Regions from separate parts of the Homo sapiens genome. Here region 1 is linked to region 2. The links are contacts of gene promoters, found by promoter capture Hi-C in blood cells and fetal thymus (Javierre and others, 2016). All regions are on one chromosome and are shown on one strand. The core of a region is centred on a gene start or on the middle of the fragment in contact, and the rest is flanking DNA. Distances in the headings are between cores, read along the strand shown.

What was found. The method cuts DNA at HindIII sites, captures the fragments that hold promoters and counts their contacts. A CHiCAGO score of 5 or more calls a contact.
Region 1: a contact is called between the fragment with the promoter of OPTN here and the fragment with the promoter of UPF2 in region 2, in 1 of 17 cell types (erythroblasts). The highest score is 6.1, in erythroblasts.

Annotation. Positions count from the first base shown.
Region 1 is chr10:13,096,599-13,101,486 of GRCh38, forward strand. OPTN (optineurin) reads left to right here and starts at 3,565. Exons shown (of 15, transcript NM_001008212.2): 1 at 3,565-3,704. It also overlaps a transcript of CCDC3 not described here. RefSeq lists silencers at 2,841-2,900, 3,371-3,940 and an enhancer at 4,221-4,350. The HindIII fragment of the contact is 12,315 bases long and covers 1-4,888 here.
Region 2 is chr10:12,039,719-12,044,877 of GRCh38, forward strand. UPF2 (UPF2 regulator of nonsense mediated mRNA decay) reads right to left here and starts at 3,091. Exons shown (of 22, transcript NM_015542.4): 1 at 3,037-3,091. LOC105376416 (a long non-coding RNA gene) reads right to left here. Exons shown (of 3, transcript XR_930666.2): 3 at 4,081-4,243. RefSeq lists enhancers at 1,999-2,088, 3,259-3,508 and silencers at 2,609-2,658, 2,679-2,818. The HindIII fragment of the contact is 3,508 bases long and covers 1,464-4,971 here.

The DNA of each region.
Region 1 (4,888 bases), core at 2,315-4,814, 1.1 Mb after region 2:
CCATTGAAGTAAGGGCCATTTATTTTTCAGCCCAGCAACATTGCCACTGATACCCTCATTATCAAATGGTTCTTCTAGGGAACAGTCTCTGCTGTTTCCAATGACAAGCCTGGGCAGCAGAATCTGCGGGAGGTTCCCAAAGTCCAGTAGGTGCATCCCAAGAGCTTGCTGTCTGTCTGGGTGCTGCAGGGACTGAGGCTTGAGTCCTTGATGCTCATAAGACCACCATCCCACTCCTCCTCCCAATCTGGGGGCGGGGGAGTCACTCCTCCCTCCAACTGTTGTGAAAGCCTCCACCCCACCCAGCTCTGGCTCTTCCTCCAGGACATCTGGGGTAGATCATGGATGTATTGAGATCAGGCTTTCTCAAAAGACAAGAAGAAAGGCTGTACTTCTAAGAGCTGTTGCCAGGAGTCCAGCCAACGCTCCTGAAGGTAGGAAGCCCAAAGGGACTCGTTGCTAACTCCAAACAGAGGAGATTGGGGTGGAAAGGGAACACAAGGAACATCAAACCCAGATTAGGATCTCACTAAAAACCTTCCCACACTGCTCTACATTTACCCACCACAAAACCACATCAACAAATCAGCTAAGAGCATGCTATTATTTCAGTTTTTTCGCTGCATTTAGATTCCATCTACCCATGGAAGTGTGCAGGAAGATGGAGTCACCAAACGGGATGATCCAGGCTAAGAAACAGAACCGGCTCTAACACAAGCAACAGCAACAAACACCATGAGCCAGGCGTTCTTCTAGGTGTTGAAGACGTATTTCCTCTTTAATCTTCTCAGCATCCTTAGGTGAGGGCTGTGGGTCCAGAGGCCTTATCTAAAATTTTTGGGTGGCTGGGCACCGTGGCTCACACATGTAATCCCAGCACTTTGGAAGGCCGAGGCAGGTGGATCACCCGAGGTCAGGAGTTCAATACCAGGCTGGTCAACATGGCGAAACCTCATCAATACGAAAAATGCAAAAATTAGCTTGGTGTGGTGGCACACGCCTGTAATCCCAGCCACTTGGGAGGCTGAGGCAGGAGAATCACTCAAACCCAGGAGGTGGAGATTGCAGTGAGCTGAGATTATGCCACTGCACTCCAGCCTGGGCAACAGAGTGAGACTCCACCTCAAAAAATAAAATAAAACCTTTGGGGCAAGCTCTGCTTTAGAGTCCAGAATTCTGGGGATTTTCAAAAGGCTATTCAATAAATGGGATTTATATCACATAACACCCTGACACTGTCTGACGCAGTTCTCCTATCAACTATTCGATTTTCCTTCACAAAACAAATTTAAAAATCACATCAAGGGATCTAAATAAAGACTGTAAATAGCTTTCCATCAGTTGGGTCTGGTCAGAAAAGAGGTTTGGTCCTTAGAACTTTCTGGATTTGGGAGTGTACTATACTCCCCATTTTACAGATAAAGGGAATGAGGAAGGGTAAGATGAAGTAACTTGGTCAAGGTCCTACAGCTAAGAAGTGGTTGTCGGGGGAGTGTGTGTGCATGTGTGTGTGCAGTGCTTCAGGGCACCCCCCACCCCGACCCCACCACTGAGAGCAAGGAATCAGGAGAAAACAACTTTGACTGCTTTCTGTACCAGAAACTCACCTCGAGCCTCCCACACCAAAGCCATGGGCAGCTTGTGGGTGACCTTCTTCTCTTGGCTCTGAGTTTCACTGATGCTCATTTTAATTCACTTTCATAGTGTTGTTTTGTTCTCGTTTTTGTTTTTGCTTGAGACAAAGTCTCCCTCTCACCCAAGCTGGAGTGCAGTGCTGCAATCACAGCTCATTGCAGCCTCTCCCTCCTGGGCTCAAGCGATCCTCCTGCCTTGACCTCCCAAAGTGCTGGGATTACAGGTGTGAGCCACCGTGCCCCACCTATAGGGTTTTAAACAGTAAAAGGAGCCTAGTGAAGTACGACTTACCGCAGGCACCCCTTACAGGCCCCGGGGGGACCCTTTTCTGCCGATCCCAGGGTACAGCTGTGACACCGTCTTTTCTGCCTGGATTATCCCAGTAGATAAACAAAAATTAGAGATCGTCATTCCATTTCTCTCTGTATATATTTTTCCAAGCCCTTTTCATGAATGATCAGTTATTTCCTGCACTGATTTTTTTTTTTTTTTTTTTTTTTTGAGACGGAGTCTCACTCTGTCACCCAGGCTGGAGTGCAGTGGCATGATCTCGGCTCGCTGCAAGCTCTGCCTCCCGGGTTCAAGCGATTCTTCTGCCTTAGCCTCCCGAGTAGCTGGGACTACAGGAGAGTACCATCATGCCCGGCTAATTTTTGTATTTTTAGTAGAGACAGGCTTTCACCATATTGGCCAGGCTGGTCTCGAACTCCGGACCTTGCGATCTGCCTGCCTTGGCCTCCCAAAGTGCTGGGATTACAGGCGTGAGCCACCGCGCCTGGCCCTCCTGCACTGATATAAAAAGAATTTTTTTAAATTCTCTATTTCTCCCCACTCCCACCCCCAGGCTCACTCCTTATAAAGCAGCCTCTAGCCTCATCTGCCCCTCCTACACCACACCAACTCGAGGGCCCGGAATTGGGTCTGGGGCAGTCGCTGACTTGCTTGCTTCTCTGCCCTGCTCTTGGGGTTAGCCTCAGGGGCAGGGTTGAGAGTCAGGCTTGGCCAGGCAGCAGGAGGTCCAGACAGCGAAGCAGAATCCTTCGGAGATACCAGGAGAGGGCGCATCTGCCTTTTTCCTGTTTCAGATTAGGTTTTGTTGTTGTTGTTTTGTTTTTTTTCTCTCCCTCTCTCCCTCCCTCCCTCTCTCCCTCCCTCTCTCCCTCTCTCCGTCCCTCCCTCTCTCTCTCTCTCCCCCTCCCTCCTTCCCTCCCTCCCATCCCTGCAGCGCTACCCGGGTACTCTGGATGCACATAGGGCGGCTCTCGCTCCTACCTTGTCATCCTGCTGTCTAATCCGGGGGCAGCTTCCCTCCTCCACACCAGCAGAGGCTATTCTTCAGCAACAAGAATAGCCGAGCCTATTCGTCCGCAACAAGAGCCCAAGAAGCATCCTGCAGGCTTTCTGCTTTTTGAGTGTATTTTAAAGCAAAAACGAGTGGAAAGCTATGTATGCTCAGTTAACTATGTCTAGATGTTAACCTTTTTTCAAAAAACACAGATGGAGGCCTCCCTCCGAGGATGCCTGGCATTCTCCTCTTTCTGTGGGCGGCAGCGACCCCCTGCGGCTCCAGCCTCCACTACGGGATCTGCGGGAAGACACGGGGAAGACGAACTCCGCACACTGCATTTGATTAATGATTTATTTTGATTAACGCCGTCACAGTGACGCCTTAGAGCAGTCCCTGTTCACCCGGGTCCCAGCCTCGACCCCGCACGGACAGCGAGGGTGGGTAGCTGGGGGCGGACGCAGGAAAGAGGAGGGGCGGGGCCTTGGTCGGGTGGGGTATGGAATGGGCAGGGTGGGGGGGATGGGCGGGGTATGGGATGGGCGGGGCCCGGGAAATTCCCCGGCGCGGGCAGGGAGCGGCTGGCTGTCAGCTGAGCCGCGCTGGGCGGGGTCGCCAGGCCGCGCATCAGCCCTAGGCACCCCAGTCCCGGCTGCCCCCTCCGCCACCGCCGCCGCCCGCCGGCAGGTTCCCTGGTCAGCGTCCCATCCCGGTCGGGAGTTCTCTCCAGGCGGCACGATGCCGAGGAAACAGTGACCCTGAGCGAAGCCAAGCCGGGCGGCAGGTGAGCCAGGGCAGGGGGCTGCAGCGGTGGGCGAGGGGGCGGCGGCTCCTTCCCGGCGGGCGCTTCCGCGGCCTGAAAACGGTACCCGCCGCCCTGCCCCGCGGCCCGGAGCCTGTCGGGGTGAGGGTGGCGAGGGGTGGGGCGGCCCTCCCGCGAGACGGCTGCCCTGGGAGGATCCCCAAGCCTCGGCGGGTCCTGACCTGGTGGGAGAGGGTGGGTAGTGAACACAGGGTGGGCCCAAGAAGGGTCCAGGGCCGGCCTCTTGGCCGCAGGTAACCCCTCTACAAGTCACCCAGAGACTTGGAGGTGACGTCCTCCCGCAGGCTGGGAAGGATTCCGCAGCCAGTTCCTCGCCATAAGGAGGTGGTTACAGACACGCCTGTGGGAGACATGGGACCACTACCCGAGCTGAATGAGGTGCCCAGGGTCGGTGGGAATCCACATAGACTGCTGTGTCTAGGAGAGTGTGTACACTCTATATAGAGAGAATATTTGATGAGGCCGAGAACCCCAAAGGAATTGTTTTTGCCATCGAAATGCATAAGCTACAGGAAGTAAACATCGCTCAAAGAAAATGAAACCCAGGTTCCGACCTGGCCTCCACCAGCAGGAAAACTGTTGTATGGAAATGTACACCAAGGAACTGTTTGTAAGGATGAAATGGAAAATGAAAGCATAGAAAAGTAAGGCAATGTGAGGACCTCAGAAGCCTTTGGATCTGGTTAGCAAGGTGCAGGCTGTGTGAACAGAAGAACCCACCTTGCTCTTTTGACCCAGGGAGAGAAGAGTTAGTGGTGCCAGGCTGCCTCCCAGGACAGGCCCAGTTTTGGGGCGGGGGCTGGAGAAGTCCCAGGGCAGACCCCAAGGCCAGGGATTGCCCTGGAGTGGACAAGGCAAGTTTAAATGTGACCTGTAGACAGAGGACGATCATTGATTTAAGTCCTGGCATAATTCATCTGTTTTTCCACTGGGCCAATTTTAGGCGTTCTTTATATATTACGTACAACACAATAAAAGTAACAGCTTCTTTTTTTATAAACTAACCTTTAGGTTGCATATTATGCTAGGAATATAACTAACCTAACCTCCACCCCCCCACCCCCCCACCCACCCCCGGAAAACCAAACTTTATTCTCGAGGGCAACTGGACACTGTATTATGTCCTGCCGAACCCCCGCCCTTAC
Region 2 (5,159 bases), core at 1,841-4,340:
CAAGTCATTCTCCTGCCTCAGCCTCCCGAGTAGCTGGGATTACAGGCATGTGCCACCATGCCCGGCTAATTTTGTATTTTTAGTAGAGATGGGGTTTCTCCATGTTGGTCAGGCTGGTCTCAAACTCCCGACCTCAGGTGATCTGCCTGCCTTGGCCTCCCAAAGTTCTGGGATTTACAGGCATGAGCCACTGTGGCTGGCAGCATGTCTCATTCTGAAGATAAAATAACATCTTAAATTTTTCAAAGAAAAGATTAAGAAATTCATGTAGTATCTGACAAATTCACAAAGATCATCATTTATTAGTTCAACAAAGTCCCAAACTTTCATGACTCTTTAATAAGATTCATGTCTTCATTAAATTTTAAGTACTTAGTATAAGAAATAAAGCTGCAGTAGGCATGCAAGAATTAGACTCGGGGCTGGGCATGGTGGCTCATGCCTGTAATCCCAGCACTTTGGGAGGCCGAGGCAGGTAGATCACGAGGTCAAGAGTTCGAAACCATCCTGGCCAACAACATGGTGAAACCCCATCTCTACTAAAAACACCAAAATTAGCTGGGCGTGGCAGCACACGCCTGTAGTCCCAGCTACTCAGGAGGCTGAGGCAGGAGAATCACTTGAACCCGGGAGGCGGAGGTTGCAGTGAGCCAAGATGGCACCACTGCACTCCAGCCTGGCGACAAAGCCAGACTCCGTCTCAAGAAAAACAAAAAACAAAAAACAAAACAAAAAAAAGGATTAGACTGTACCCTAGAACATAATAAAACAGATTCTCCGTAAAACCCTTAAGTCCTGATACTGGTATCTCCTTTCAACCACTTCATCCTTACATTACAAGCATACGCCCAAAGTATACTTGCGACTAAATTTCCGTAAACAAAAAAAAAAGACAAAAATCTAGAAGTTCATGAAGAGGCAGCAATGCAACTTGTGAAAACAACATACATGGGCTTGGAAGTCGGACTGATTTTAAATCTGCATCCCAACTCTGCAGCCTGATAGCTACAGAAATCAGGCAACAACTTCTCTGAGTCCACTTATTTATCAATAAGATGGATATACTGCTATCTATCTTGTAGAGTTCTTAAAATTCTAGCATAGTAACTAGCATGAGGGAGGCATTAATAAATGTTCTGTCACAAAGAACACTGAGAAGTTCAGCATACAATGAAAGATTTGTAAAGTCAGATAAAGACTATTAGATTTTATCTACTTCTATCCTCAATTTTTACATTCCAAGGATAGCAGCAGAGTCACCTACCCAAGATTATATATACAGCTAGTTTCCGTGGCTGGACCAACACTCACTACCCAGTGCTTTTTCACTACCTACACTAAAACGAATAAAATATACAAACACCGTGATTCACCTCAATACACGTTTGTTTTATGTCGACTTAAAAAACTGAGCACTAAGTGATATTTAATAAAATGCTAAAATTCTTATTTCAATAACTTCAAGCTTTAACAGCCAAACTTTTCATCTAAAGTGTTTCCAAAAGTTTTTCAAGTCCAAATACAATTTTAAATAGGTCCTTTCTCAAGATAGTGAGGAGAAAAAGTCGTGATCTTTTCACTGGAATCCGATTAGCTGTTACAAATTAGTTTGCTGAATACAATTATATTCAGACTACCCTTAAAAGGAAACCATGCTTTAAAACCACCTTCCTAGCTCCCAAAATAGTGTCCTGTCACTTGAACTGTATATTTTATTTGGTATTCTAAATACATTCTGAACTTCCAAAAGAAAGTAAAACTAATTTACTAGAAGTACCAATGGAGTGTATTGGGGGGAAGAGGGCACAAAAGGGGGTGTTTCCCTTTTAAAGACATTCCCTTGCAAAGTACCATATGGATTATGTATGAAATCCCAATCAGAGTGCTCCGAAAACACTCCAGTATGAGAGAATGCGGTTTTACCTTTCAATTCTCTTATTCAAAATGCTGTCAGGACAGAACAGCACAGGAACACTATCTCCCAGTTTCTGACTTTATTTTTTAAAGAACATCCTTAGTATAAAGGACGTATTAAGAACTGTTAGAAATTGTACCAGCTCACAAATGAGGAGACTGACGATGTTAAGGAACACCTAAGAACTATGGAAATGAGATAAAGCGTCAGCGAGGGTTTCACTTTGATCTGATGCATCGTTTCGTGTCGTGTAAGTCCTCTAAGATGAGCAAGAGAGCTGAAGGTCCGATCACCCCAGCGTGGACCCAGCTGGCTCTGCTCTGCCAACCTGGGGACCAAATATCCTGTGATCACTTCCTTAGTCCAACAGTCCTAGCAAGAAGAGAGTGCTTGGCGCCTTGAAGAGGTGAAGGTAAAGTGAAGAATCAACCAGCCTATGTGATTAAAAGGAAGTCAACCAAACAGCCCATGCCCACCATCCCCAGATACACCCCAAGCCCCTTCCCCTACACATACCTCTCCTACAAACCCCTGCTCTGGTGGTGTAGGAACCTCTAAACCCACCACACTTCCCCGACACAACTCCCCTTCCCACAGGTATCCACGGTCACCTTCGCGGACCATCGCTGCCCCAACCCCAACTTCTCGCCCCACACTCCCTCGCCACAGAAGCCTTCCCGGCCGGTCTCCCCACTCCGCAGCCTCCCACACACGCGCCCTCCCCACTTTCTCGCCCTCGCTTCCCTCCCGGCTCTCGAGGAGCTTCCCCCGACCTCCCCTCGCTCTCCTCCACGCCCCCGAACACTTTCGCCCCTCCACCGCGGGCTCCCCGCCTCCAGTCTCGAGGCCCGGCCCAGGCATGTGGGGCAGGCACCTCCTCCACCGCCCCCCAAGCATGGCCCGGCCCGGGGGCTCCCGCGTTGATGGGAGCCTCGGAGACAGGGGGTCTGAGGAGAACGACGCCGGACCCGCGGTCCCTCCACTGCTCGCCGACCCCGGAGAGCTGGAGTGTGGAGTCGCCTCTGGGGTCCCCCAGGGAGTAGGAGTCTAGGCCGGTGCCCCCCAGCCCCATTTCCTCCCGATCGTTGGAGCGGAGGGGAAGGAGGATCCCCGGGACTCACCTCGAGCCTGTTGTCAACATTAGCCCCGGGTTTCCCAGCACCAACTCCAGCGCTCGGGCTCTCCCCTCCCCTCCCCCCACCTATCTCGCAGCCGAGGGCCCGCCTTCCCTCAGCTCCCCCTCCTCCCTCCGCCCGCCAGCCCTCCCGCCCGCCACTCACCAGCGCGGCCGGGCTGAGAGTGGGGGCGGGGCGGAAGGAGGCGAGAGGGAAAAGGCCATCCGCGCGACTGCCCGATTAAAAACAGTCCTGATCGTCTTCCCTGCGGCATGCCGATGCCCTCAGCTTGACTCTGGGGTGGCGGGTCCGGGGCAAAGGCTCATATGAGTGCCATTCACTTAACAGCTCTTTCAAATTCCCCAGTCGATGAGAAGAGCGAATTTTTCAGACTGGCAATACGTAAGGTAGCCACTACCAGCACCTCAAACCAGGGCCCCAGCGGAGGGGTGGAGTGTTCCGAGGACCCGAGGCAGGAAGTGGATTGGTCGCCAGGAAAGGGAAAGCGCCTGAATTGGAGCTGCGCAGGCGCAGGCGCTTCGCGGGGGATGGGGGTGGGAAGCGCGAATGGGGCGGGGCGGAGCTCACGGGAGGCGAGGAAGTGTGGTGGAATAGTGGGAGGGTTACGGAGCGCCATTAAGGACAAGCCCGGCCACGTGATTCTCCTGGGCGTTTCCTGGTGCGAACCTAAGGAAGAGGTCTAAGAAGAGAAAGTTTGATTGGACTAATTCGAGGGGAGACGTTGAAGATTTAGAAAATTGGAAACTGGAGAAACTAAACCATATGGCTGGTTTGGGAGGTGGGAGTCGCTTAGGAATGGGTCTAGTCTTAAGAATGCCCTAAAAGACATCGAAAGTCCTGCGGGGGGATTTCCAGAAGCACTTCTAGGTGTTCGACGTAAAAACCACCCAGGGCGAAGAAGAATCAAGGCTTTTTCCATACACTTCTTAGAAAGTACCTGGTTCTAGCAAGCAAACTTTTAAAAATTACAGTGGCAAGACTTCCCTGAGTTATCAAATCACCCATTTTAAAAAAAAAATGGCTAGCGTCGACATTTCTTCTGAATGCGAACCCAGGCCGACTTTCAAAAATGGGTATCAGTTTATCCACACTGCTTATTTCCTCCTGAATTGCTGAAATGGTGCATCTGGCCTCGAAACAGTACTGGGTTCTGCCAACATGATCCGAGTAGGTGGCTCTGGCTGGTCCGGAGCTAGAGGAACAAGGGTGCGAAACTGGTCTTGACGTTTGCTTGACTTGAGGGGGCCCCACCTGGTGCCCAAGCCCACGTAATGAACTACTACCAACCACAAATACTTGAGGCAAGTCCAGGTTCCCTATGACTCAACCTTTGCCCATTTGCCTCTATTTACTGTTTGCTTCCCCATTTACTCTTAGCACGCAAATTATCCTCTCATACTGAGTGTTGCTGCTTCCTGTATTTAAAAATATATATTTTTTATACACTACACATAGGTCAGTCATTTAAAGGATAGTGAAAGAGAAAGATGAAGGCCGGGCACGGTGGCTCACGCCTGTAATCCCAGCACTTTGGGAAGCCGAGGCGGGCGGATCACAAGGTCAGGAGTTCGAGACCATCCTGCCTAACACGGTGAAACCCCGTCTCTACTAAAAATACAAAAAAAATTAGCCGGCCGTGGTGGCACGTGCCTGTAGTTCCAGCTACTCCGGAGGCTGAAGCAGGAGAATGGCGTGAACCGGGAAGGCAGAGCTTGCAGTGAGCCGAGTTTGCGCCACTGCACTCCAGCCTGGGCGACAGAGGGAGACTCCGTCTCAAAAAAAAAAAAGAGAAAGATGAATACTGCTATTCTGCAGCATTGATAAACAATTATGAGAACTGCCCCAAATACCATATTGGTGATAGCCACCCACGCTTCTCTTCAAGGTTTCCTTTTCCCATTTCATGGGATTACCTTAAGAAGCTTTACTTCTGGCTGGTGCGGTGCCTCATGCCCGTAATCTCAGTACTTTGGGAGGCCGAGGCTGGTGGATCACCTGAGGTCAGGAGTTCCAGACCAGCCTGGCCCCAATATGGTGAAACCCAGTCTCCACTAAAAATACAAAATTAGCCAAATGTGGTGGCGAGCGCCTGTAATCCCAGCTACTCG